Regions from separate parts of the Homo sapiens genome. Here regions 2, 3 and 4 are each linked to region 1. Evidence: promoter capture Hi-C in 16 types of primary human blood cells and fetal thymus (Javierre and others, 2016). All regions are on one chromosome and are shown on one strand. The core of a region is centred on a gene start or on the middle of the fragment in contact, and the rest is flanking DNA. Distances in the headings are between cores, read along the strand shown.

Evidence for each region. The method cuts DNA at HindIII sites, captures the fragments that hold promoters and counts their contacts. A CHiCAGO score of 5 or more calls a contact.
Region 2: a contact is called between a fragment that was not itself captured here and the fragment with the promoter of LMAN2L in region 1, in 2 of 17 cell types (neutrophils and naive CD8 T cells). The highest score is 7.9, in neutrophils.
Region 3: a fragment that was not itself captured here is called in contact with the fragment with the promoter of LMAN2L in region 1 in 1 of 17 cell types (megakaryocytes); the score reaches 5.4 in megakaryocytes.
Region 4: a fragment that was not itself captured here is called in contact with the fragment with the promoter of LMAN2L in region 1 in 15 of 17 cell types (M1 macrophages, M0 macrophages, M2 macrophages and 12 more); the score reaches 12.6 in M1 macrophages.

The regions. Positions count from the first base shown.
Region 1 is chr2:96,736,796-96,743,609 of GRCh38, forward strand. It overlaps LMAN2L (lectin, mannose binding 2 like), which reads right to left and starts at 3,269. Exons shown (of 8, transcript NM_030805.4): 1 at 3,059-3,269; 2 at 1,154-1,272. The coding sequence starts at 3,245. RefSeq lists enhancers at 1,645-2,584, 2,585-3,522. The HindIII fragment of the contact is 9,784 bases long and covers 1-6,814 here.
Region 2 is chr2:96,510,697-96,517,510 of GRCh38, forward strand. No RefSeq gene overlaps it. Among named protein-coding and RNA genes, the nearest start is that of NEURL3, 8.7 kb to the left of the region's middle. The HindIII fragment of the contact is 2,764 bases long and covers 1,587-4,350 here.
Region 3 is chr2:96,527,093-96,533,906 of GRCh38, forward strand. It overlaps LOC105373496 (a long non-coding RNA gene), which reads right to left and starts at 5,214. Exons shown (of 3, transcript NR_135564.1): 1 at 5,135-5,214; 2 at 2,642-2,757; 3 at 848-1,091. RefSeq lists silencers at 108-447, 598-697, 4,928-5,007 and enhancers at 1,558-1,707, 3,918-4,709, 4,710-5,499, 5,208-5,257. The HindIII fragment of the contact is 468 bases long and covers 2,944-3,411 here.
Region 4 is chr2:96,590,459-96,597,272 of GRCh38, forward strand. KANSL3 (KAT8 regulatory NSL complex subunit 3) reads right to left here. Exons shown (of 21, transcript NM_001115016.3): 21 at 2,714-5,173. The coding sequence ends at 5,153. Among named protein-coding and RNA genes, the nearest start is that of KANSL3, 44 kb to the right of the region's middle. The HindIII fragment of the contact is 317 bases long and covers 2,993-3,309 here.

The sequences.
Region 1 (6,814 bases), core at 2,019-4,518:
ATCCCAGTCTTTCAACTGTCCTTTATCTCTGCTACGAAAACACAATGCTCTGTACTCTGTCCAAAAATGAGCTCGGCACTATGATCTAGGTTAAGGGGCCAGTTTGTGCAGATAGCTAATGTAGAAATTTCTCTTGCCCTCCTGAACAGGGAAAAGAAATCGTTCTCTTTTCTGAGATTCGCTTATCTACAACTAATGAGAAAAGCCACGTAAAAAAGTAAGTTCTTAGTTTAAGAGAATTCCAGAGAAAGTATCAAAGGATGCCAGAGTCATGCCCAAAAGTAAACTGGTCGTAAAAGATTTAGAAAGCCCTGGAAACAGAAAAGAAAGCATCATCTTACACTTGTACAAAATCACAGTGCAGCCACACCAGGAATACTGCATTCACTTCTTGTCGCCATACCTCAAGGAAGACAATGCAGCTAGAAAAGGTCCAGAGAAGGACAAATAAAATGACCAACAGCTCAGAGTGGCTTTCACATGAAAATAAAATTTTATATCAGACTCTTCAAATTGAAATAACAAGATGGGGATGCTGGGATAAGGTTTGGGATCAATTTAAGAGTACTCTCAACCAGGACCGGTGGCTCACACCTATAATCCCTGACCTTTGGGAGGCCAAGGCAGGAGGATTGTTTGAGACCAAGAGTTTGAGACCAGCCTGGGCAACATAGCAAGACCCCATCTCTACAAAAAACGTTTTAAAAATTAGCCAGGTGCAGTGGCACATGCCTGTAGTCTCAGCTACTCAGGAGGCTGAGGCAGGAGGAGCCCTTAAGCCCAGGAGTTTGAGGCTGCAGTGAGCTATGATTGTGCCACTGCACTCTGGTCTTCTTATAATCTTCTTACAAAGTGGTTAAGCAGGAGTTAAGTTATTATTAAACCCTAAGAAGTAGTACTATTGGGCCAATCAGGAATTAACGACATTTCAGGAAAAAAAAATGAATTATTTGCTATAATTAAATAGAGAGCATTTTCCTAAATACCTGATTTATTTATTATCAAGGTCAGAATAATCTCAAAAATAAAGATCCTTGATATCCACAGAAGATAGAATACCAGGGGGATAGACAGTAAAATTAAATCAGTATGCCACTGCTGAACTTTTTAGGCCTTTCTGGGTCACCAACACAGGAGGGAGAAAGATTCTTACCACCCGGTTCCACAAGGCACCCTGTTTACTTTGCATATCTGGGGTAAGGCGGATATACTGGGTCATCACCATGGCATTGCCCATCAGATTCCACAGTGAGGAACTGCCTGTGCCCACACCTACAGGAAGGAAGTAGATCAGTTCATACTTTTCAACACCAATCCATTCAGAAAGCAGCCACCACAGAGCCTCTGAAAGCTGAGCCATCATCTTTTTCCCCCTTTAATGTCACTCAATCTCCTATCTTCTCTCAGTCATGAATCTTACCATCTCTACAGCTTTCACAAGGCCTTTATCAGGTAAGGACCCCAAAGCACATCAGAACTCTCACTTTATGCATGTTACAGTAACCATAGCTCACATCCATTCTTCCCGTTTTATATGTGAGTAAACTTCAGCATCGTAAAAGAAAAAAATTTTCCTGAGTTATATCAAAAAGAGTTTGACAGGCCAGGTGCAGTGGCTCACCCATGTAATCCCCACACTTTGAGATGATGTGGAGGGAGGGCATCTTGAGGTCAGCAATTTGAGACCAGCCTGGGCAACATAGAAAGACCCTGTCTTTACCAAAAAAAAAATTAGCCAGGTGTGGTAGTCCTTGTCCATAGTCCTAGCTACTCAGGAGGCTGAGTTGGGAGCATCGCTTGAGCCCAGGAGATTGAAACTGCATGAGCCATGATTGTGCCACTGCACTCCAGCCTAGGCAACGGAACAAGACCTTGTCTCTAAAAATATATAAATATAAATAAAAAGAGTTTGACCCTCAGGCCTCCGGGGCTTAGTCACATTCTTCCTTTTTTTTTTTTCTTTGAGATGGAGTCTCGCTCTGTTGCCCAGGCTGAAGTGCAGTGGCATGACCTCGGCTCACTGTAAGCTCTGCCTCCCGGGTTCACGCCATTCTCCTGCCTCAGCCTCCTGAGTAGCTGGGACTACAGGCGCCCGCCACCACACCTGGCTAATTTTTTTGTATTTTCAGCAGAGATGGGGTTTCACCGTGTTAGCTAGGATGGTCTCAATCTCCTGACCTCGTGATCCGCCCACCTCGGCCTCCCAAAGTGCGGAGATTACAGGCGTGAGCCACCGCCCCAGCCGTCACATTCTTTCTTTAAACAATCCTTAAAGTGTGAAGCTACTCCCTGTACCCTCACCTATAAACTTCTTTAAGAATGAAAACTTTGTGTCTGCAAACCCATAAGCATTAGCAAAGAGACAGCACAGAGGCACTCCAGGCATGTAAGTGAATAAATGATTACCCTTAGTAGTAGAGTATACTCTTGCACTTTGAATTGTTTTCTGTCCCACTACCTACGCCTTAGTGGGGAAAGACTTGTGTTAGTTAAGCCATCTGCACTGGTTTGTCATCGTTTTGTGGCTAACTGCATTAATTTTCTGGCTGATAAGCTGTGCTTAGAGTTCTGTGAACCCTAACCTCTTTCACCAACAGGGCCCCTAGGCTGGAGAAGAGAAGGTGGTTCTACCCAGCAACATAAATTTATCATCTTCTCATTTCGTTCAAGTTCTACCCCAGTTCTTCCTCCTGCTTTATTTCTAGCACATCCACAGGTCCATCTGGAGACTGGCTCATTGCTAGTAGCCCTCAATCACTCCTCACCATTCTCAATTCTCTCCCCTTCCCAAACTCCTCCTGTCTAACTCCAGGCCTAGTACTAGTGGCACCCGACAGCCCTGCCTTTACCTACTGGAAACTTCCAGAGCTTGGCAGGCACACCTAACTCCTGCCTTTCAGACCTGTGGCTCCCAAACGCGGAGGGAGTCTCCGTGGGCCCCACCACCGCCAGCAGTTTCCTCCGGGCCACGAAGCCCTTCGCCGCCCCCGCCTCTACCCCTGAAATCAAGTCCCGAAGCCCGCCCCACTGCACGACCACCTCACCCTGGGCGCCTCACCCTGGTAGGGCTTCGACAGCGAGTGCTCCCGTTTCAAGTACTCGAACGTTTGACCCGCCCCGACTTGCTGTGGCCCCTGCCCAGACCCCAACAAAAGAAGAAGGAGTAACATCCTGGACCCATCCCGAGCCGACAAACATCGCCGCCACTGCTGCCACGACCCAAGGGGTCCCAGAGTCGCCGCCATCTTTCCCACCAACGACCCTTCATCAAAAGCCCGCCCCGTCGCCCAACCCATTGGCCCGAAGAGCCATCTGCCCTGCGTCCTATTGGCTTTCGTCAAGCCCCCGCCCCTGCAGGTGACTATATCACCGATTGGCTGGCTTCTGTATCAGTTGCCTTGCCAACCCAGAAAAGGGGCGTAGCCGAATGCCCAGCCCCCCCCCTTATTTGCATTTGCCCTGAGTTCCACTAGGCTTGCTGGGATACGTAGTTTATTTGTATTTTGTTTTCTGCGTACGAGAGTAAATTTAAAGAGATAAAACGTTTCTTCTGGTCCCAAACATTCTATCCTCTCTGCAATAGTACGCTCCTGACTGCAGCTCTCTGAATCAATTTGGAAGATATAGCAGTGAAAGGAGAAATAGACAAATCCGTAAAATAGCTGGAAAACTATCAATTTATAAAAGACTTGAACAGCACTACCAACTAACTTGACCTGATGATATTTATAGAAACTCCACCTAACAACTGCGGAAGACACATTCTCTTCAAATGCAAATGACTCCTTTGCCGTGATAGTCTGGGCCATCAAGCAACCTACAGATATAAAAGAACTGAAAGCACACAAATTAATTAATTCTAAAAGCCATCACCTCCTTTCCTCCCTTCCTCTTTTTTTTCTTTTTGGTTTGAGACGAGGTCTTGGCCAGGCGCGGTGGCTCACGCCTGTAATCCCAGCACTTTGGGAGGCCGAGGCAGGCGGATCACCTGAGGTTGGGAGTTCGAGACCAGCCTGACCAAGGTGGAGAAACCCCGTCTCTATTAAAAATAAAAAAAAAAATTAGCCAGGCGTGGTGGCACGTGCCTGTAATCCCAGCTACTGGGAGGCTGAGGCAGGAGAATCGCTTGAACCTGGGAGGCAGAGGTTGCAGTGAGCCGAGACCAAGCCATTGCACTCCAGCCTGGGCCACATAGAGCAAAACTCCATCTCAAAAAAAAAAAAAAAAAGAGAGACAAGGTCTTGCTCTGTTGCCCAGGCTGGAGTGCAGTGGCACAATCTCAGCTCCAGCCTCTCCCTCCCTGGCTGAAGTGATCCTGCCACCTTAGCCTCCTGAGTTACTGGGACTACAGGCACATCCCTTCGTCTTTATCCGGCACCACAACATGTGTCCAGACTGGTCTCCACGTAGCCACTAAAGTGATCCAAACTATCTAACCATGGTAAGTGTCAGGGTTAAATGAGTCAATATTGGTAAACCTCTTAGAACAGTGCCTTGCGTGTAGTAAGCACTATTTCTTTCTTTTTTCTTTTCTTTTTTTTTTTGTTTTTGTTTTTGTTTTTGTTTTTGAGACAGGGTCTCTCTCTGTCACCCAGGCTGGAGTGCAGTGGCATGACCACAGCCTCAACCTCCTGGACTCAAGGGATCTTCCCACTTCAGCCTCTCAAGTAGCTGGGACTACAGGTGTGTGCCACCTCACCTTGCTAATTTTTATTTTTTGTAGCTATGGGGTTGTGGGGGAGGTCTCACTAAGTTGCCCAGATTTGTCTCATACTTCTAGACTTCAGTGATCCTCTCTCCTCAGCCTCCCAAAGTGCTGGGATTAGAGGTGTAAGCCACCGCACCAAGCCATAAGCGCTATTTCATCATCATCATTCTTATTAACCGGGCCTTTGATGGCTCACCATCACCTGTGGGGAGGAGATTCAAGCCCCTCAATTTGGCACACAAAGCCCCCTGCCATCTGGCCCTGGCCTTATTGCCCATGACTCTTTTCCTCCATCTTTATGCTCCAGCTTCCCTTCCCTCTTTTTTTTTTCTGCAGTCCACTTCCTTCTGGAGGTCCTTCTCAAACCTCTCAGGCAGGGTAGATTCTCCTGTCTGAGCTCTCAAAGTGTTCCATGCACATCTCATATAGAGCAATTGACAGATCTGTGTTTATGTCTTCCCAATAGACTTAACCAAAGTTAACACTCTCTTGCTTTCCTGAGCATGAATATATTTAATAAGATAAACATAATTATGAGCCTACTTTACAGGGGATCAACTTTTTAAAATTAAAGCTGTCACAGCTATTTTTTTTAAAGAGATGGGGTCTTGGCTGGGCACGGTGGCTCAGGCCTGTAATCCCAGCACTTTGGGAGGCAGGCGGATCACCTGAGGTCAGGAGTTCAAGACCATCCTGGCCAACATGGTGAAACCCCATCTCTACTAAAAATACAAAAAATTAGCCAGCCGTGGTGGCACACGCCTGTAGTCCCAGCTACTCAGGAGGCTGAGGCAGGAGAATCACTTGAACCCAGAAGGCGGAGGTTGCAGTGAGCCGAGACCGCACCACAGCACTCCAGCCTGGGCAACACAGTGAGACTTCGTCTCGAAAAATATATATATACATATATATACAAAAATTAAATGGGCGTGGTGGCAGGTGCCTGTAATCCCAGATACTTGGAAGGCTGAGGCAGGAGAATCACTTGAACCCAGGAGGTAGAGGTTGCAGTGAGTCAAGAAGATCCCACCACCATACTCCAGCCTGAGCAGCAGATCCGTCTCAAAAAAACAAAAAAAAGAAGAAATGGGGTCTCAATCCATCAGGCTGGGGTGCAGTACTGTGATCATAGCTCACTACAGTCTCAAACTGCTGGGTGAGCCTCAGCTAATTTTTAAAATTTTTTCTAAAGATGGGGGTCTCTATGTTGCCCAGGCTGGTTTTGAACTTCTGGCCTTAAGCGATCCTCCCACCTCATCTCTCAAAGTGCTGAGATTACAGGTGTGAGCCATGGTGCCCAGCCTGTCACTGCCATCAGTCTTTGACACCCTACAATGTCAAATGTCTGGTGCTAAGACTTTAGGAATTGCAATGAATCTGTTCGTGTCATACACTGGCTTTAAAACCATTCATAACTCCCAATTACCAAAATCCAAAGTCCTTAGTGTAGCATTCAAAGCCCTTTGCATCCTGACTGAAATCAGGCGCTACGCATGTGTACTGTAATGTGTGTCACCTGGAATTATGGAGCTCAATTAACAGATTATGGGTTTGTCTCCGCAGCAAGGCTGGGAGCTCCAGGACCACAGGAAGCAGGTCTTACTCATTTCCTAACTCAGGCCCCACCCATTTCCCCAACCCCAACCTATCACCCAGCACATAGTAGGGGTTCTAATTGTTTTGAATAAATTATTTCCATTGCATTTCTCTGCAAGATGAATTTTTAATTGTAGTAAAATGCACATAAAGGCCGGGCGCGGTGGCTCACACCTGTAATCCCAGCACTTTGGGAGGCCGAGGTGGGTGGCTCATCTGAGGTCGGGAGTTCGAGACCAGCCTGACCAACATGAAGAAACCCCGTCTCTACTAAAAATACAAAATTAGCCGGGTGTGGTGGCGCATGCCTGTAATCCCAGCTAGTTGGGAGGCTGAGGCAGGAGAATCGCTTGAACCTGGGAAGTGGAGGTTGCGGTGAGCCAAGATCGCGCCACTGCACTCCAGCCTAGGCAACAAGAGTGAAACTCTGTCTCAAAAAAAAAAAAGAAAAAAAATACATAAAATACAGCGTATAATTTTTAAGTACAGATGGTCCTCAACTTACAATGG
Region 2 (6,814 bases), core at 1,719-4,218, 230 kb before region 1:
CATGACACCTCTGCAGCCATAGGGGACCCAGGCTTTCTCCGCTGTTCAGCTCCACCATTCTAGCACTGGCCTCAAGGTCACGTCATGTACCAAAAGTGCTGCTGGAACTCCAGCCAGTACATCAGAGCTCCAAGCATCAGGGAAGAGAAAGACTCAAATGGGCACTCCTCTAAGCTAAGCCAAGCCAGCTTGCAATTAAGCTGATTTACTGGAGGGCCTATGTAACGTTTTCATTTATAGCTCATTGGCCAGAACCTTGTCACATGGCCACAGCTAGCTGCAAGGGAAACTGAGAAATGTGGTCTTTATCGGGAAGAGCAGCTAAAAATTGGGGTCTGTCACTAAGGAAGAAGGAGAAACTGGATGTTGGTGGGAAGCCAGCACTGCCTAGCCCAGGGTAGAGTGGAGCAGTGGTCCTTCAACTTGTGGGGAGGGGGGCAGGAAGGCAGCCTGATCACAGGGGCCGTGCCGTGGAGGGGCTGGACTCTTCCATAGCAAATAGGGGATTGCTGAAAGATTCTCAGCAGGAGCCAAGGGTTGAGGAACCTGGAACTGTCTGCTTGGGGGAAAGAACCATTGGGCAGAAAATGGAAGCATGCAAGGAGGGGAAGGGAACTGTGAGAAGTTAATAAGGGCACGAGGCAGGGAAGGGCACCCCAGGAGAGCCAAGGCTAAGCCTGGCAACAGTGGGAGGTGATGCCAGGGCCCCGGGGAGGGACACAGATCTACTGAGGGTAGTCTGGGAGGAACACAGTACTAGCAGATAGCTGTGTCTGAGGCAGCTGTTAACCATCAAGTCAGGTGGCTCAAAGGCAACTGAGAATCCAAGTGGAAGCTCAGGTGAGATGACAGCACTGGGAACATAGATGAAGCGATCAGTCATACAGTGGTGGATGGGATCAGCCAGGCAGGGATCCAGTCGTTCAGCTGGAGGACTCTGATGGATCTTTCGGAGTTACTGGGGAAGGAGAACAATGGAGTGACCAACTGCATAAATTTTGAAGCCAGAGCTGGGTTCAAATCCAGACTTTAACAGCCATAAGCCTGTGGGCTGGCTAACAACACTTTCTAAGCCTTAATTTTCTCATGTGCAAAATGGAAATAAAGAGGCCTTCTGTGCGGGCTGATAGGAGGGCTGAATGAGTAATGAGTAGCACATTCCCACACAGGGAACTGCACTAACCAGTAAATACCTGCTCTTACCAGTAAACCACCCCCCCGCCCCCCACTTACTGAAGAGGACATCAGTGCCTTTCTTGGGGCCATTCACTGTGCCCGACAGTCCTCTCACTGCAAGGTGGGGCCCGTGGAGCCCTGTGTGGGATCGCTCAGGTGAGGTCACAAGCACTGTGCCTCTCCAGGACCCTGAGACCTCCAACCCAGCATGGCTAGGGCAGCCCCTGGCTCTGCCAAACCTCCTGGACAGGGGCATCTGCAGCCCCAGACAGGTGGGTCAAGAGAAGTGTTATGCCTCCTGCCAGCAGGGAAAAGGGGCCAGAGTAGGCCATGGCATGCCCCTTTCCTTAAAGGGCACAGCCAGAAAGAGCACACATGGCCCAAACTTCAGCTTGAATCCCATTGACCAAAGCTTAGTTGTGTGGCCACATCCAGCTGCAAGGAACTGGGAAGTGTAGGCTTCATTCTGGGCAATCATGTGCCCAGCTAGACAGAAATTGGAGTGTTCCAATATTACAATAGAGAAGGAGAGAATGGATATTGAGGGAAAACAGCAGCCATAGGGTGCAGGGAAAGAGAGAGGGCATGGCACCCTGGGTGCAGGGTGGTGGGAGGCTCTGAGCGCTGGGAGACCCCATGCCCCTGGGACTCACATGTGCTGCATGCACATCGCCTGGCACCCAGCCCGCAGGAACTCAGCTGTGGGGGCACTGTGGGTGGGTGGGCAGGGGAGCTGTTGTAGCTGAGAACCACCTCTACTGGCCAGAAGGACAAATCACCAACTTCTCCAGTAGAATTTTTCCAGATCCCTGGAGTTCCTTCTGGTCCCTCACCAAAGCCAAAATAGCGCAGAGAGGAAGAAAATATCTTCCTTCCACTCCTCTGAGTTTTTGCCCATTGTCAAAGCTCATTGCAGCCATTGTCATTGTCTCTACTGCCCAGGCCTTGGGCACAGTCCATCCTCCACAGGCAGGGATTGACCATTCCCTAGGTCTCCTGACACCCCCTCCACCCTGGCAGAGCTAGGGCCAAATGTTCCCTGCCAGAGTGGAGTGGACTCCAGCCCATTCTGTCTTAAGGAGCCTCTCCTCTCCCAACTTGAGCTTTTTTTTTTTTTTTTTTTTTTTGACGAGGTCTAGCTCTGTCAAGAGGGTGGAGTACAGTGGCACGATCTCGGCTCACTGCAGCCTCTGCCTCCCGGGTTCAAGCAATCCTCCCACCTCAGCCTCCCGAGTAGCTGGGATTACAGGGGCATGCCGCCATGCCAGGCTAATTTTTGCAATTTTAGTAGAGATGGGGTTTCACCACGTTGGCCAGGCTGGTCTCGAACTCCTGACCTCAGGTTATCTGCCTGCCTTGGCCTCCCAAAGTGCTGATATTACAGGCGTGAGCCACCATGCCCAGCCCCCGACTTGAGCTTTGAGAAGCAAGCTAAGAGTCAACCCTTCCCTCTGAAGCGAAGCACTACCTCTGCCCTGACTGGGCTGCTGCTGCCTCTCTCTGCTCCTCCTTGTGTGTGAAGATATTCGGTGGAGGGAAGAAAGACAGGGTCCTCAAATCCTGTCAGTGTATCTGAGTTGTCTTGGCTTGGGTTAGGCTCTGTGTCTTCCAGTAGCTAACCTGGAGCATGGGTCCCCGGCGCCACACGTGCATGCACACCGTCCTTATGCTTTCATTCCTTTCATTGTGACTGGACGAGTACTTACCTTCTGGTTTGTGCCTTCATGGGGGACTTTAGTGTCTCATCAATCCTTTCAGCCATACAGTCAGCACACACTGGGGGCCCATGATGTGCTGAGCCTTTGCAAGTGCCATGAAATAGCCTAGCACAGTCAGCAGCACAGAGTGGGGACTCTACCACCCACTGGCTGTGGGACTGGGGTGTATTACAGATGGGGACTGGGGCTCAGAAAGACTGAGTGACTCGTATAGGTCAAACCAGGACTGACCCCAAAGTTCTCCACCGTTTTGTTAATTCTAAAACAAAGATGAGGCCGAGCATAGTGGCTCATGCCTGTAATCCCAGCACTTTGGGAGGCGCCAGGTGGGTGGATTGCTTGAGGCCAGGAATTTGAGACCAGCCTGGACAACAGGGCAAAACCCTGTCTCTACAAAAAAATACAAAGATTAGCTGGGTGTGATGGTGGCACACGCCTGTAACGCCAGCTACTCGGGAGGCTGAGACACGAGAATCGCTAGAACCCAGGAGGCAGAGGCTACAGGGAGCCAAGTTCATGCGGCTGCACTCCAGCTTGGGTGACAGAGCAAGACTCCATTTCAAAAATAAAATAAAAAATAAGGCCAGGCACAGTGGCTCAGGCCTGCAATCCCAGCACTTTGGGAGGCTGAGGCAGGCGGATCACCTGAGGTCGGGAGTTTGAGACCAGACTGGCCAACATGGCAAAAACCCATCTCTACTAAAAACATAAAAATTAGCCTGGCTTGATGGTGCACACCTGTAATCCCAGCTACTCAGGAGGCTGAGCAGGAGAATCACTTGAAACCTGGGAGGCAGAAGTTGCAGTGAGCCAAGATCAGGCCACTGCACTCCAGCCTGGGTGACAGAGACTCCATCTCAAAAAAAATAAAAATAAAAATAAAAATAAAAATAAAATAAAGATCAGGGTCCTGAGTGAAATCTCACATGTCCTTTGAAAATGTGCAAAAGTACAGTACATGTACTGGGCGACATGTATCATTTTTAAGCCACACTTCTTTGTTCTCAGGTTTGTTCTGGATCATCCAGGTGGCTAAGTCAGAGGCTACTGGGTGGGTGTGGGGCTGCAGGCTTTGGATGGAACTGCAGACATAGCATGCATGTTTGCATGAGTCACTCCGCGTGGAGGCTGCAGGTGAGTGCATTAGCTGAGGGTAGTGTGCTATTTATTTGAGCCGAAGTAAGGAGACTGCCTGGATCCTCTGGATCCTCTTTCTCCATTCAGAGAGAAGCCCACTGCCTCCTGCTCAAGGGCTCCAGGGACTCCAGGGTGGATGGGGTAAGCAAGGCTCCATTTTCATGCTGCCGATAAAGACATACCCGAGACTGGACAATTTCCAAAAGAAAGAGGTTTATTGGACTTACGGTTCCACATGGCTGGGGAGGCCTCACAATCATGGTGGAAGGCAAGGAGGAGCAAGTCACATCTTGCATGGATGGCACCAGGCAAAGGAGAAAGCTTGTGCAGAGACACTCCCGTTTTAAAAACCATTACATCTTGTGAGACCCATTCACTATCACAAGAACAGCACGGGAAAGATCCCCCACGCCATGATTCAATCATCTCCCACTAGGTCCCTCCTTCTCCTTGTCTCCTTTCCTGCGGATGTTTTCTTCCCTGCAGCCCAGTGCACCCAGGTAGCCTCTTTCCCCTTGATTTTACTCAGGTAGCACTGACACAGACATTTGTGAGCAACAACTTTTACTGAAGGTTTAGGGTCACACAAAGTGTGAGCAGGGAGGCAAGGCTTACAGTGCAGCTCACAGCACAGAGAACCAAGTTAAACTGAATCTCAGGCAACCATTATTTATTTTCTCTCTCTCTTTCTTTCTTTTAGAGACCCGGTCTTTCTCTATCACCCAGGCTGGAGAGCAGTGGTGCAATCATAGCTCACTGCAGCCTCGAACTCCTGGGCTCAAGTGATCCTCCTGCCTCAGCCTTCTGAGTAGCTGGGGCTACAGACACCTGCCACCATGCCTGATAAGTTTTTTAAAAAACTTTTGTGGAGATGGGGTCTCACCATATTGCCCAAGCTGGTCTTGAACTTCTGGGCTCAAGCAATCCTCCTGCCTCAGCCTCCCAAAGTCCTGGGATTCCAGCTGTGAGCCACCATGCACCCCCAACCCCTATTTTCAAGGGCCCTGCAATATTTGTGTCAACATGACATCACACTGTTCATTCTTCATAAGCCAGAGCCTTCCTCCACCCCCAGCCCCCTCATTCTCCCTCTCTTGGAGCCAATTCAAATCTCCTCACCCCCAAATCTATTTCTCATGCAGAGCAGTACAGCTCCCCCTCTGAACTAATATTATCCCCAGGCCTAACTTTGCGTGCCCCCAAATCTCCCTGAGGTGCTCTGCTAAACATCAAGACCACTGACTTCAGATTCTGGCAACACCATGGACTCAGCTAATGCTGATGCCACCTCCCCTGCCAACACTGAGAAACTCAGTACCAAATATAAGTGAAAGATGTTAGAACAACAGTGGAACTTGAAAAAGGAGTGGAGAAGCATTGAGGTGTCGAGTGTACAGAGAGAACTTAGAGCCAGATTTGGGCTTTAACCCAGGGGGCCCAGTGAGAAACTGGACATGGACGGGGGCCCCACCAACGGGAGCTGAGGGTTCAACACCCACTAGGATCCAGAGGTGTGGCCTTGTGGAGAACTGGAACTGAGACCTCTGTATAAAGCAAGAACCCTGGAAGGATGGCCCCTCAGAAAAGAATTACCCACAAAACTAGGAGGTGACACATGAATTTTGTCTTTGCCCAGGCCTCTGGGTGGAAGAAAAGTTTCCTGGGAAAAATCAAAACTGAAAACCAAAACTATTCATGAAGGTGGCAGCCAAATTTATGATATCCATATGGCAAAGAATTCCCAAGATGAAAAATTACACAAAAATGCTCCCCCATGAGCCCTTGGGAGCAGTTGTCAGAAACAAATACAAAACATCTCTGAGGCCATTTTCACAATCCAGAATATATAGGACTCCCATGGAACAAAACAACTCCACTGCAGATGAGTTCACAAACAACAGCTACAAATCACATGAAGAAACCATCTGCCATGAAGGAGAGCCAGCAGGCACAACACACAAGAAAATCATTAACTCCAGCTGGGCGTGGTGGCTCACGCCTGTAATCCCAGCACTTTGGGAGGCTGAGGCAGATGGATCACGAGGTCAGGAGATCGAGACCATCCTGGCTAACACGGTGAAACCCTGTCTCTACTAAAAATACAAAAAAATTAGCCAGGCGTGGTGGCGGGCACCTGTAGTCCCAGCTACGGGAGTCTGAGGCAGGAGAATGGCGTGATCCCGGGAGGCGGAGCTTACAGTGAGCCGAGATTGCACCACTGCACTCCAGCCTGGACTACAGAGTGAGACTCCATCTCAAAAAAAAAAAAAAGGAAAAAGAAAATCATTACCTCTAAGAACCTGAAATAATAGGACAAGCCAAAAGAGATATAAAATTAGCATATTAAAATGATTAAAAATACAAAGGAAGGAATAAAAATGATAAAGAACAGGATACTGTGTAAAACAACAGATTTGGAAAAGAACCACAGAGACAAAAGAATATGGTTATTGAATTTGTAAACACAATATACTGGCAAGCCAGCAGATTAGACACAGTTGAATTGAGAATAGGTGTACTGGAAGGCAGATCTGCAGAAATTCACCAGAACTCTGGCAAAGAGAATATTTGAAAGAAAAGCTAAAAGACATGGATAATAAAACGAGAAAGTCCAATATACCACTAATAGGAGTTCCAGAAGAAAAAGTCAAAATGAATCAGAAAGTGATAATATTTGCCACATTCAAACAAATAATGCATGAAGTTTTTCTAGAACAAGAAATAGCCATAAATCTTCAGATTGAAGAGGCCCATTGATTACTGAGCATGATAAAAATAAATAT
Region 3 (6,814 bases), core at 1,928-4,427, 210 kb before region 1:
AACGCCCCTGCAATGGGACGCCAGACACCTCTAAGAGTGGGTGTAGGCCTCCAAAAGTGTCCACATGATACTTCCAGAAAAACTTCACATGCGGAGGTGTGCAGGAATGTGCGTGCTGCTAGAAAAGAGGCCTAAGGGGTCTGCCCAACGTCCTGAGAACCCGAGAGAGCAGGGCCCGCTGGGACAGGCAGGGGAAGGCCTCGGGAGGGACACGACGGTCCGGCAGCAGAGCCTGCGGGGCTGGAGGAGGCGCCCTCCTCTCAGCTGCTCTTCCTGCCCCTTTCGGTGGCGAAGATGGATGGGGCCCGGGGCTTTCGGCGGGGCCCGAGGGGCCGGCGAGGCTGCGGCCCTGGAGCCCCCTGCCTGGCAGCCATTTGGGCCCCAGGGAAATATCGGCGCTTTGGCTAACCGAATTATTCTTTCGGTTTGAGCCAGCTCCCCTTTTTGAGTCAGATCCGGCGGCAGGGCCAGAAAAGCGCTTTCTGAAACCCCAGCGCGGTCCTCGGTGGGGGTGGAATGGGGTGGGGTGGGGGGCGCGGCCGCGCCGCTGGGCGCCCTCCCCGCCCTCCCCCCTCCCCACCCCCAGTCCTCCCTCCGCTGCCCGCCCCCCAAGCCCGGTGTCGCCCCCTCCGCCCCCTGCCGCATCCCCGGAGCCAGTGCCCACAGGGGCCAGGCAGCCCGCAGGGGTCGCTCACGGCTGGTGTAGGGGCTTGGTCCACCACGCTAGTACTTCGGGCACCAAAATAGAAAAAGAATAACGCTTGGAAAGAATCTGATGTTTCCGAAGGAGCATCGAAAATCGCCGTTACGGGAAAAGTAAAACTCTTGAGGGACTTCCTTACACTAATTTAACTGTCCCGGGTTGTTTTTATTTCTAATTGTGCTGGGGGGATGGGCATCATGATCTGTTTTCAGGGCTTAATGCCCCCTCCACGGTCCCTGGGGGACCTCTGGCCTTGGTGCCTCTCCAGGACATCCTGATGTCTCCGAGGTCCCATTTCAACTCCCTGGGGTCCCGGGCTGCCCAGCTGTTATTTTGCAGAATTTCTCTCCCACAGTGTCACCAGTAGTTCTGCTTATCGCTCCTGCCACTGAGTCACAAGGGGAGGAGGGGATTTCTGAGCTGTTTCAACACTTACCCAGAATATTAGGGGTTTCATGCAGCCCTTGTTTATTTAAAAAAAAAAAGAAAAGAAAGAAAGAAAAGAAAGCCCCAAAGCCAACAAAATATGACACACACGTACAGAAGGAGGGAAGGCAAGGGGGTGGGGGCCTTGCAGAACCAAATGGCCTATCTGCTGAGCTGGGGCTGGAGCTGGAAGTCAGGTTTCCTGTCCCCACTCCCCCAGCCTGGGCCCACCCCGTGCCTTCTGTTTCACCCAGGGCTGTGGAAACCAGCTAATGTTTATGGAGCACTTCCTCCCGCCAGCGGGCACAGTTCTAAGCCCTTTATAAGAAATAGCTCATCCAATGCCCGTAACTGCACCCGGAGGCGTGAGGGCTGTTATTGTGCCTGCCAGCCGGTTTCATAGATAGGAGACAGCACGGAGAGTTCAACTGCACTGGGGTACTTGGGTTTCCTGTGGAGAAAAATTTGCCCATCGCTTTGGCACAGAATCTGTGCCAAGACAGATTCTCAGCCAAGGCAGGCCTCAGAGTCCCCAGAGTCCAGCTACAGGATGCCCAGAACCTCCCTCCAGCTGAGACAAGCTGGCCAGGGGCTTGGGACCTCTGAGCTCCTTGGGGAGCTGAGGGGGCGCTGTCCTGGAGTCCAAGACCTGGGCTGTGTTCACTACCCCTGGCCAGGATTCAGCAGCAACACAGATAACCAGGAAAGGGGCTGTGGCCTGAGCAGCCAGCCTGCAGCCATAGGGAGGGTGTGACTCCAGCGAAACTCCAGCAAGAAGGGCCGCATGTGAGGTCAAGTCCCCAGCATCTAGAATGTGCTGCCCTTGACAACTAGGAAGCGCTAACCCCTGGGGAAGAAAGGGCAGATGTTGCCTGGTGATGGAGGGAGATGTGGGATAGGGGTGGAGGTGGGTGCATGGCCTCTTCCTCCTCCCTCTCCTCCGTGCCCTTCATTCTCCTTCTGTGGATCTTCATTGAGCACCTACTGTGCACCTGCCCTCAGTGGCCTCTCACTTCCTCCTCTTCCTTCCCAATTCCTTTACCAACTGTGAGATCTTTTGAAGCGACTGTGAGACCTTGGATAAGTCCCTTCCCACTTAGACCCTCAGTTTCCTCTTCTGGAGGAGCAGTGGCCGGGGTTCTGCGGCCCTTTCAGCAGCGTAGTGTGGGCAGATAGTAAAGACCACTCCTAGCTGGAGACGAGAGGCTCGGGAGCTGCTGGCCAGTCACACAATGGCATGGGGCTGACCACAGGAGCACGATGTGGCACATGCCCTGCTGGAGGTGTGTGTTGAGACCCCTGGGTATCTGCCTCAGGTGGGCCCTTGAAGGATGAGCAGAAGCTCACTAGGTAAATACAGTGGGAACTGCCAAGCCCGGGAAGGTTCCTCCAGGCCAGAGGGTATAGCCCATGCACACACACAGCTCCAGAAACAGCACCAGGCACTGGGGCAAAGCCCTCCCAGTGTGGCTATATTGCCGTATGTGCCAGAGAGGGGGGATGCCAACCTACCTCCATGTCCAGAGCTGTCTTTACCCAGGCCCAAGGCCCAGCCCTCTGCCTTCAGCCTCCACGCAGCCCTCTGTCTTCAGCCGTGGCCACTACCACTCAGGAAGGTCTGGAAGAGCCTGCTGAGGCCAAGGCAGAGAGAGCGAAGGCAGTTTTAACAGAGCAGAATCCCTCAGGCAGGCCCCATGGCTGAAGACACCATGGCATAGGTGGGCAGCTGGGGTGAGGGAGGGGGGCTGGACAACCCTGTGTCCTCTTCTAGGAGTCCAGGGCAGGCCAGGGTGCCCCAGATGTGGGGAAGAAAAAGCTTCAGGGGCTTCTTGTAGGCTCTCTGGTGAGTTAGTGTATACATATGTTTGTGTGATCCTATGTGTGAGCTGTGGGCTCCTGGCAGGCAAGACCCATGCATAGATGCACAGGCGTGTGTACACAGCTTTGCACACTCACATCTGGGCGTGCAGCAGCAGAAAGGATGCACAGCAGGTGCGGGGAGAATGAGAGAGCTCTTGGGGTGTAGACAGAACCACGTATACCTGGGTTCACCTTGGGTTCTCCCTGCCAGGTACTGTTTCCAACAAAGGTAGTTGGGATGTCAGGCAGGGAGGGTAGCCCTGCCTGTGGCAGGTGCCTGGTGGATGATACCACGATGATGAAAGCAGGGGCCTGGGCTTCAGGTCGGGGCTGCAGTGTGGGGGAGCCACAGCAAGAGTATGAAACCTCTGGGGGATCTGGGTTCTTGGAGCCAGCTGACCCCAGGCCATTGCAAGGCTGAAAGCTTTAGTTTTCATATTCGCAAAGTCCCATGAGTTCATCTGGGGAGGAGGAATTAGAGCAGTCCCTCCCCCAAAAGCCTGGGCTTCCAGTATTGAAGGGGTTAGTGGGGCCTACTCAGATTGGAGATGAGTCACTGACTTCCCCCATAATTCCTCCCTTCATGCCCGCATCCTGGCCAGAGCCTAGGACCCCACCAGGAACCTCGGGAGGGCTTTGCAGCTGCTACCCAAAGACCTGGAAAGCCCGATCGGGAGTGGGGTCTCAGGGCCCAGCCCCAGGTCATCAGGGCAAGGCCTGAAGAGTGCAGAATCCACCCTGCAGAAGTTCTGATGCCACCGGCGAAGGAGGCTGTTCTCAGGTAGCTGCCACAATAGAATGACCAGTTGTTGAAGGCTTATGTTATTTCTCACCCTCACAGTAATCTTGCAAGCTAGGTATTGCTAACGCCATTTCACACGGGAAAACTAAGGGTTGGAGACAGTGAATAACCCATCCCAGGTCATACTACCTGCAAGGGAGGGTACCCGGATTGCAAACCAGTCCACCTGACTCCAGAGCCGGGGAGGTTTCTGTTCTCTGGACTGGCTGAGAAGCTCCCAGGGAGGCATGGACCTCTCCTAGCCTGTCGCTGCAGGAGTCAGCATGTGGTGAGAGCCTGCCTCAAGTGTTTGGGGCCCGCCACCATAAACCTGAGTGATTCCACACGGCCTAGGAATGGCTGGGAGGCCATTAGGAAGTCTCCGGGCCTCTTTAGGGCTACAGAGGGTGAGATGACGTCTGTGTCCTGCTCACAGCTGAGACCCAATTCACATTGTGGGTCCTGGCTCAGAGGGTAGGCATTATAATGAGCCTGAGGGCATCTTTTTTTTTTTTAAGTTGGGGTCTCGCTCTGTCGCCCAGGCTACAGTGCCCTGGTGCGATCATAGCTCACTGTAGCCTTGAACTCCTGGCTCAAGAGATCCCCCTCCCACCTCAGCTCCGGAGTCACTGGGACCACAGACTTGCACCACTGCCTCCCACAAGGGTCAGCTTCATGATCAGCAGCTCTCCCCAGGTCACCATAATCCTGCCCCCAGGATGCGGAAAGTGGCGCTGGCAGTCACCACCGCCTCCATAAGTCTGGCAGATTCCCAGCCCTGCGTTCTCCAAATACAGGGCAACTAAAGGGAAAAGGGGGAAATAGGAATTAAGGCATCACCCCTCACCACTTTCCAGTTAGTCTAGGGGGAAATCGGCACCTCTCCAGAGGTTTGGGGACCCCTCTTTCCATTCCCTGTGTCCCCAGGCCGATCCCCAGCCCTTTACTCCAACGGTAGACCTGAAGCTGTCGAGATATCAACTCAACATCTTAGGAGGGAGGGGAGACACTGAAGAAAAAAAAAACAAAACAGCTGCCCCCAGGAGGGACAACGATTCTCCCAAGAGCAGGCAGTCCCGAACTTCTCCCAGCACCCTGAACAATGAGGTAAACGGAGGTGTGGCGGGCCGCTCCCCCTACCCCTGCTAGCTGGATGCCAGCCCCCACCGCAAGCCCAGGGCTCAGCTGGCAGGGCCCCGCATGCAGCCCCCGCCGGGGGCAGGGCTGAGTGGCAGAGCGCAACAGCCGTGCCCCCTTCCTGGCCGTGCTCCTGCCTGGGCCTCTGGAGCCTGCCTCTCCCCCTCTGATGTAAGCTGATATTTTAATTCTCTTACAAGGAATGGTGTTTAGAGAAATGACTTAACCAGATTACTCATCGTCTCTAATGACTTGGCCCGACTCCAGCGCTATTCCTAGACGTGACGCTTGAGGCTTCGATTCTTTCTCTCTTTCCTTTTGCTCCTTTTTTTTTTTTTTTAAATACCAAGAAATTACAGCCCTGCCTACGCGGAGGCCCAGCCCCTACACGCCCCCTTTGCATGGTATCCTGGGAGATGGAGTTCTGTCCTGGCCCCAGTCATGCCCCCATCCCCAGCCCAACTCCTCGCCCCTCTCCCGCCTCATCTTGGTGGGAGATGGGCAGGGTGTGGCTGGGCAGAGGTCATTTAATCTCTACATGCCTTGGTTTACTCTTCTGTCAAATGGAAGGGTCACCTGACATACAACAGAGAGTGGAAGTGTCAGTTGAGACCTTATTTTAAGTAAAAGTGTCACAGAGACCCAATGGTTTTAAGAGATTTCTTGTCCAGTGCATTTTGTGCTAAGCACCAGTCAAGACTCACACAGAGCTTTAGTTACCCTGACCCTGGGACTTACCAGGGCCTGGCCCTCACCCAGCCCAAACTTACTCCTTCCTGTCTGTGGACGAGTCTGTGGGCTTGTCCAGCACTTACTCTCTGGTTCTCAATTGTAATAAGGGGATAGATATAGATACAGCGCCCACTTCAGAGGGCTAGAGTGACATTGAAAGAAATACTCCATGCAAGATGGTGCAGTGTGTGTTAGGGTCCGCCCTGGTCCAAGGCATTTTCACCCCTTTCAGCACAAGGCCTTGGCTGAGTAGCTGGAGCGGGGACTGATTCTTAGTAGCCTGTGAGGTTGGCAAGGGCCACATCTTCTGCTCCACAAGGATACGGACTTCTTTCTGGTTGTGGCTACATCCCAGGTCTAGCTCAGTGCTGGCACATAGTAGGACCACACAACACATGTTGGATGAGTGGATGACTGAATAAGTGGAGCATTATCCTGCTTTCCACGGGAGGGGCCTGAGGCCCTGACAGGTTAAGTGTCCAAGGCCACACAGCTGGGCTGTGTCTGAGTGGGAATGAAACCCCCAATTTTCTCTCCTTGCCCTCCGTTCCCCTCCCCCAGGGGAATTCAGCTTCCACCCTTCAGGCTCAGGAAGTTCAGAACCATGGGTTTCTACCCTGCTGGGACACACTGGGGAGATGTGGGGTGGAGAGGGGAAACCAGCCCAGCCCTGGCCCAACACAGGAAATCTTTCCAGATTGGCTGGAGGTTGGAGGGAACCTAGAGCCAGGTGCAGATGCAGCTTCCAGTGTGGACAAAGCTTGGGAAGCTGGTTTACACGCGCCCTGGGGTACAGTGGCCAAAGCTCTTTCAGGCAGGAAGTTGGCCCTTGGTGATCTGGGACTCACAACCACCTCCCCACTCCTTCACCCCCAGCAGTTCCCCAAAGGCCAAAAGCTATTCTTGTCTTTTTCTAAAAGAGGCATTTGAACCATGAGCCAATTTTTTCCATTCCTGAGCTTGGGTATCATCTATTTCGGGCATTTGTTGTTTTCCATGAGTTGCAAATGCTGCTGTGAAGCTGGCCTTTCCTGGACAGCTAGCACGGGGAACGAGGAGTTAGGCAAGCAGGGCGGGGCCGCGTTAAAAATACTTCCCCACTTCATTTCTCCTTTGAAAACAAACCCCCAGGGGCCTTTGGCAACTGCTGAGCCTGGGAACTGAGCTTCCCAGGA
Region 4 (6,814 bases), core at 1,901-4,400, 150 kb before region 1:
ATTTGTATTTTTGTAGAGGCAGGGTCTATCTATGTTGCCTAGGGGGTTTCAAACTCCTGAGCTCAAGCAATCCTACCATCTTGGCCTCCCAAAGTGCTGGGATTACAGGTGTGAGCCATCAGGCTGGGCTGGCAGTTTCCTAAAAAATTAAAAACTTAACATATGACCTAGTAATCACACTCCTGGTTATTTACCAGAGAGAAATGAAAACTCATGTTCTCATTTTAAAAACTGCATACAATTGGCTGGGCACAGTGGCTCACACCTGTAATCCCAGCACTTTGGGAGGCCGAGGCAGGAGGATTGCCTGAGGTCAGGAGTTTGAGACCAGTCTAGCCAACATGGTGAAACCCTGTCTCTACTAAAAATACAAAAAAATTAGCCGGTCCTGGTGGTGTGTGCCTGTAATCCCAGCTACTCAGAAGGCTGAGGCAGGGGAATTGCTTGAACCAGGGAGGTGGAGGTTGCAGTGAGCTGAGATCGTGCCACTGCACTCCAGCCTAGGCGACACAGCAAGACTCCGTCTCAAAAAACAAAACAAAACAAAACAAAACAAAACAAAACAAAACCACTGCACACAATTGCCACAGTAGCTTTATCTGTAATAGCCCCCAACAGGGAACAAACTAGATGTCCCTCAATAGGTGAATGAATTGTTACACAAACTGTGCTAAACCCATACCATGAAATACCACTCAGCAATAAAAGGAATGAACTACTCATATACACGTAACAACTTGGATGTGTATCAAGGAAATGATATTGAATGAAAACAAGACAATCTCAAAAGGCCATGCACTGTAAGATTCTATTTATACATCAACCTATTTAGGACAAGTAGAAGAGATTAGTGGTTGCTAGGGTCAGGAATGGTGGGGAAGGAGATGGATGCAACTATAAAGGGGTGGCATGAGGGAGATCTTTGTGCTGATGGAACCATTCTGTATTTTGTTTATGGTTACAGCGATAAAATGACATAGAACTATACACACACATTGTACCAACTTCCTGGTTTTAATTTTGTATTATAGTTAAGTGAGATGTAAGTACTGGGGAAACTTGGTGAAGGGTGTTATACTATACTACAATTGCAGGTTAAAAACACACATATCTAACAGTCCAGCAGTGTTTTGCTTTGTTTAAATCCATCTACTTCTCCTTAGAAAAGTAATGATATGAACCACATGACTTCATCTTCTGGATACTATGATTGGACTGGGTGGGAAGAGATAAGGAGAACCAACCCACAAGTGAGAGTGAGCCAATCAGGCTGTCTTCAGAATTTGAACTGAATGAAAGAGACCAGCCATCCATAAAGGGTTCTGCAGCTAAAAAGTCCTGTGACAATAGGATCAAAACTGGATCCCGGCAAGTCCAAGCCACTTGAGGTCACGAGGCAAGTACCAAAACCGTGAGGCTCCTTGTCTATAAAAATGCCTAATGAGAGAATATTCCCTTTCAGAGCTATTTTGGTGGTGAATAGGTTTCTCCTTCTTGCAGCCATCAACCCTGACCAAAATGTGTGCTTGAAAAAGACATAAAAAGGTAAAAAAGACTTGTCTGCATCATTATTTGCTATGGCCCTGTCCCCATACCCCTGAAGTTTCAGAGAGCTGTCATTTTAACAATCTAATCCTCATCTCGCTTGACCTGACTGCTCAAGTCAGTGAGACTAGAGTTTGAGGGAGAAGACAGCAAACCAGATGTCTACTAAGGAGGGTAACACGATGTGCCCAGGTATACTGGACACTCCAAGCAGCATACCAGAACTATGGCCTCCACCCAGAGGGCTCCAATGCCAAGGGTAGTGACCTGGAATTTAGGGGTTAGAAGGAAGGTCCTCCTGAATACAAGTTAACAAATAATCTAGAGGTTGGAATTCATTCATTCATCTCTAAATCTTTATGTATTTATTGGCGGTGGGTGGAGGTATAGGAAGTGCGAAAGGATACTGATCTTTCAGGATCAAGGTTGAGGGACCCCACCTACTGACGTAGGCTCAGCCAAGAGCCCCACCATATCAACATCAATTACTCTTGGCCTGGTGGGAAGTAAACTGAAAAGGTCACGTGCAGGCCAAGCCACCATCTCCTCACCTCCTGGGTTAATCTCTACCTCCAGTCTCCCATCTTAGAACCCTAGCACAATGCAGAGTAGAAAAGACACTGACATCAGACTGTCTGGGTTCCAGTACTGCTTCTGCCATTTCCTGCTGTTTTGACTGCTCTGTGCCTGTTTCCTCACTTATAGAAAGGAAATTACAGGCTGGGTGTGGTGGCTCACGCCTGTAATCCCAGCACTTTGGGAGGCTGAGGCGGGCGGATCACAAGGTCAGGAGTTTGAGACCAGCTTGGCCAACATAGTGGAACCCTGTCTCTACTAAAAACACAAAAAATTAGCTGGGCGTGGTGTCGGGCGCCTGTAATCTCAGCTACTTGGGAGGCTGAGGCAGGAGAATTGCTTGAACACAGGAGGCGGAAGTTGCAGTTAGCCAAGATCGCGCCATTGCACTCCAGCCCAAATAACAATGCGAGACTCCATCTCGAAAAAAAAAAAAGGAAATTACAGTACCCCCTCATACCACCTGGCATTGGTGAGGTGATGATCACTGGCCTTACAATATCTTAGCTCTACCTTTGGTGCCCACTTCATTGGGTGGTTTCCAGAATACATATGAGAAGTCAACTGAAAAGAAGCTGAAGCAATCCAAATGTTGTTTTTGGTGTTTTTAATTGTTTTTGTTAATGTAAAAACAGAACCATCACAGCCGCTCAGCTCTATAACCCATCCAGCCCAAGACTGTTCTAGTGGTGAAACCAAGAGTAGACAGGTCTTCCTACCTCAGTGACCTCAAAACACAAGGACATCTCCATAGGGCATCAACATGCATCTGTCATCCAAGAATCTAAGAACTTCCTGATCCTTCCACATTTTCTATCAATAATATTGCCTTCTGAGGTTATGGATTCCAGGTCTTCTATGAAATAGGTAAAGCTTCCTTTCGCGTTCCAAGAAATATAGTTTGCGAAGGGAACTGGAAAACGTGACTCTAGGCCTCAGCCACTTCCTCTGTTACCCTGTGCAAGTTGTAGAACAATCCACGTTCTCACAGCTCCCCTTCTTCAGTTGTGGAGTTCTTCAAGGTGGACAGATCACACCTCAGGAAGTCATCCCTTGTAAGCACACTAGAATTTATCATAAAGGCAGGTCGGCTTGTTAGTTTTTCTTTGTCCCCAGCATACACTGAGCCAACAACTTAAGTCATGAATGGGTTGTTTAGGGCTCTGTCTGTCCTAAATGATTCCTAAAAGCTTCATATAGCTCATATAGTCTTATTGTCCACTGCTCTTTTGGTGTGGTATGATCCTACCTGTAAAGCTATCAAACCCCTGGGTCCTGGATGCCTCCTCCAGATTTCATACCTTCCTCAAGTTTACTAAATACTTTCTGAATTTAAGAATTTTGAGAAAGTCACCTACCAGCTAATGCAAAAACACAGCCTAATTCTGTGTGAATCCCTGTTGAGATCAGCTTTTCAGGTCAGGGAGGGAAGGTATGGGGTTTAGGGTACCCTCTCCTATCACACACATCCCCCCTGCCCACAGTACCCTGACCTACCTTGCCTGAGACTCCTAGACACTATGAGCTCCCTTCTGGCTGCCACTCAGACTGGCCAGGAAGGCTCCCAGATTGAACACAGGTGACCTGGTATAGATACACACTGTACTGTGGGCCAGAACCATGGACTACATTTTAAGCCATGTTGTGGGCCCTTCCTGCCTACAGAAAAGGACACTTGAGTGGAGTCACACTTGGGTTGCCTAATTTATTACCTTAACTAGAAACATTCTAAGTATGGGAGCCTGTTCTGGAGGATAGCTTCTAAACCAAATCTAAAACTATCTTTGCACACAAGTGTTGTGAAGAGGTAAGCAGGGGATCAGAGCTCCATCTTCTGTGACCACTTCTCCAGGGACTGCCACCTATAGGGCTCAGGTTGGTACCAACAGCCCTGCATAGTAGAGTCACTGTCAATCATCTTCCCACTTGTAAGCAGGAAGACAAAAAGTCTCATGAAATAGAAACGAAAACACTGAAGCATGGCCTTCATCGTCCTAATGCCACAAGTTTCCTGGGATGGCCAAGATACTACCTTAGCTTATTGTCCCTGCTTCACCTCCAGAGACTGGAGACAGAGGATTTTCCGGGGTTGGGGTTTCTTCTCTGACTTGGCAAATTCTTCTTTTTATCTCCAGCTGAACCACCAGTTCCTTGGGTAGCAGAGCAGAGACCTAAGCACAAACCACAGGGCTTACTAGCACATCCTTCAAGCCACTTCCTTTGCTGTTCTATTACTCTTCTTCAGCTTATCTGAACCTGCGGACTCTCTGGATACAGAAACTGCCCAAAGCATGGTGAAAAAGACAAAGGGCCCAGGTTTCACCTGGCAACCACTGCTCCCAACATCTAGAGTAAGTCAAAGAGGCTGAAAGATGACAGCCTAGTTCTCTTTGCCTTCATTATGATACTAACAAAAACCAGAAGTTTCCAGGAGTCAGCAAGCTACTCAGTATCTGACGTGGTTTCTAAGGTGGAGTTGCATGGGGAGCACTCTCCCGTGGCTGCTGAGTGAAGGCAACAGTGATGTCCAAAACAAGCCCGTCCGGCTCTGAACCACCAGTTGGCAGGCCAGGATGACTCCAGTCTTTAGCAAAGAGCTTTCCATTCTAACTCCCGAAATCCCAGACCAGATGGATGTCTCCTCCCAACTAGGCGCAGAGGGTAGCACAGACTTCCAAAAGGAAACACCTTCATTAAATGCAGCAGGCAGTCCTATATGCTGACCCTTGGGTCAAACCACAGCTTAAGCGGGGGAAGAAGTGGTTCTGATCCATGTACAGCCAGATCTGCTGAGGAGTCTGGGGTTCCCAGGAACCAGATTTGCAGATCCTGGACGATGGTGCTTCCCTTGCTGGCACCGTATCACCTAACCTAATGGTTTCTCTGAAGACAGTTGGCGGAGAGGCAAAAATGACTGTCTTAAACAGGTCTTCCGACACGTGGACAGCTCAGCAGGACCACACACCTGTCCAGGGCCCACCATGAGGCAGCCATCACCAACTTGGTAAGGAGGACATATCACACAGCATCTTCAGGGTGCTGGAGGCAGGCGCTGTGGCAGGAGAGGTAGTGAAGAAGGGTCAAAGCTTTGACAGGTTATCATCATATTCAGACCCTCTATCCCAATTATCCCAACTCCTGAGAATTTATTTTAAAGAATTAATTCTCAATAGGAAAGAAGTTGGATACACAAGGACACATGTTCTAGCTGCCAAGTGGTTAACAGAACATGGACTCTAGAGTGAGAGACTCAACTTTCCACTTTTTAAGGCAAGTGCCTATGTTCTCTGAGCCTCCTTTTCCTCGCCTGTAAGAGGTAGATGACAGCATCTACTTTCCAGGGTCACCGTAAGGATTAAATGAAATAATCCACATAAAGCTCCTGAGTTTAATCTGTGCTCAACAACAAAGGTCACCTCATATTATTACACATGAAGACAGAAAAGGAATGCAGAAAAAAGGAAATAGGTGAGTTTTTAAGGGCAACAGAACAGAAGGGAAGATTTCCGTGACTTCTGATTTTGAGGCCTTAGACATGTAGGTGTGGGGGGATGCCATCAATGTTGAGCCCTGCAGCTTAAGAATAAGGAAGCAAGTAGAGAGGGTGGCCTTTTTTACCAACGCTTTCCCCACTTTTCTAAATTTCCCCCTTGGGAAACTCCTAAGAGGTCTCTGAGAATGTAGTAAAGGAGGGAAGGCCAGGCGAGGTGGCTCATGCCTATAATCCCAACACTTTGGGAGGCCAGGCAGGAGGACTGCTTGAGCCCAGAAGTTTAAGACCAGCCTGGGCAACTTAGCCCATCTCTACAAAATTTTTTCAAACATTAGGTGAGCATAGTGCTGCATGCCTTATAGGCCCAGCTACTCGGGAGGCCGAGGCCACAGGATTGTTTGAGCCCAAGAGGTTGAGGCTGCAGTGAGCCATAATCACACCAATGAAGAGGAGTTTGACAATCAAACCTCATGACTTCAATCCCAGCACTTTGGGAGGCTGAGGTGGGAAGACTGCTGGAGCCCAGAGTTCCAGACCAACCTGGGCAATATAGCAAGACCCCATCTCAATCAAAAACAAAAACAAAACCTCATGGGCTTCCCTGCCCAAAGGCAGGGCTGTACACAGATGATCACTCTGTTCTGATTATGAATACACCTTAGAGTGAGCCAGCTTGCCCACAGCCTGCTACAAGGCTACAGTGAGGCCCACTGCCAGAGGCCTCCAGCTAGAGGTGCTGCTTGCCAGGCTGACAAGGTCCTGGTATGGCCAGCAGGACAGAGAGGAGAGAGAACTTATAACCACAGGCAGGGAGTCCATTTTTTGGACCCTGATGCAGGGCACAACATAGTCTCTGTCTGTCCTCTTCCTCCCTGCAGCTTCTCAGCTGTGATGAGTACACAATAGTCCATTCCCATGAAGGAAACACATAGTAAACACCAATCAGTGCCAGAAACAAAACAGATAATTAAGTGCTTATACAGATCTTAGAGAAGTCTAGTTGGTGTTCACTTTTCTTTTTAAATTCATTCCATCCAAAAATATTGCAGTATGGAACCCCAAAATAAAAAATGACTGTTTTAAAATCCTAACAATACCATTATCACACATTAAAAAGGTTAACAATTCCGTAATATCAACAACTATCCAGTCAGTGTTAAAATTTCCAATTGCCTCATAAATGTCAAAAAAATGGGTAGT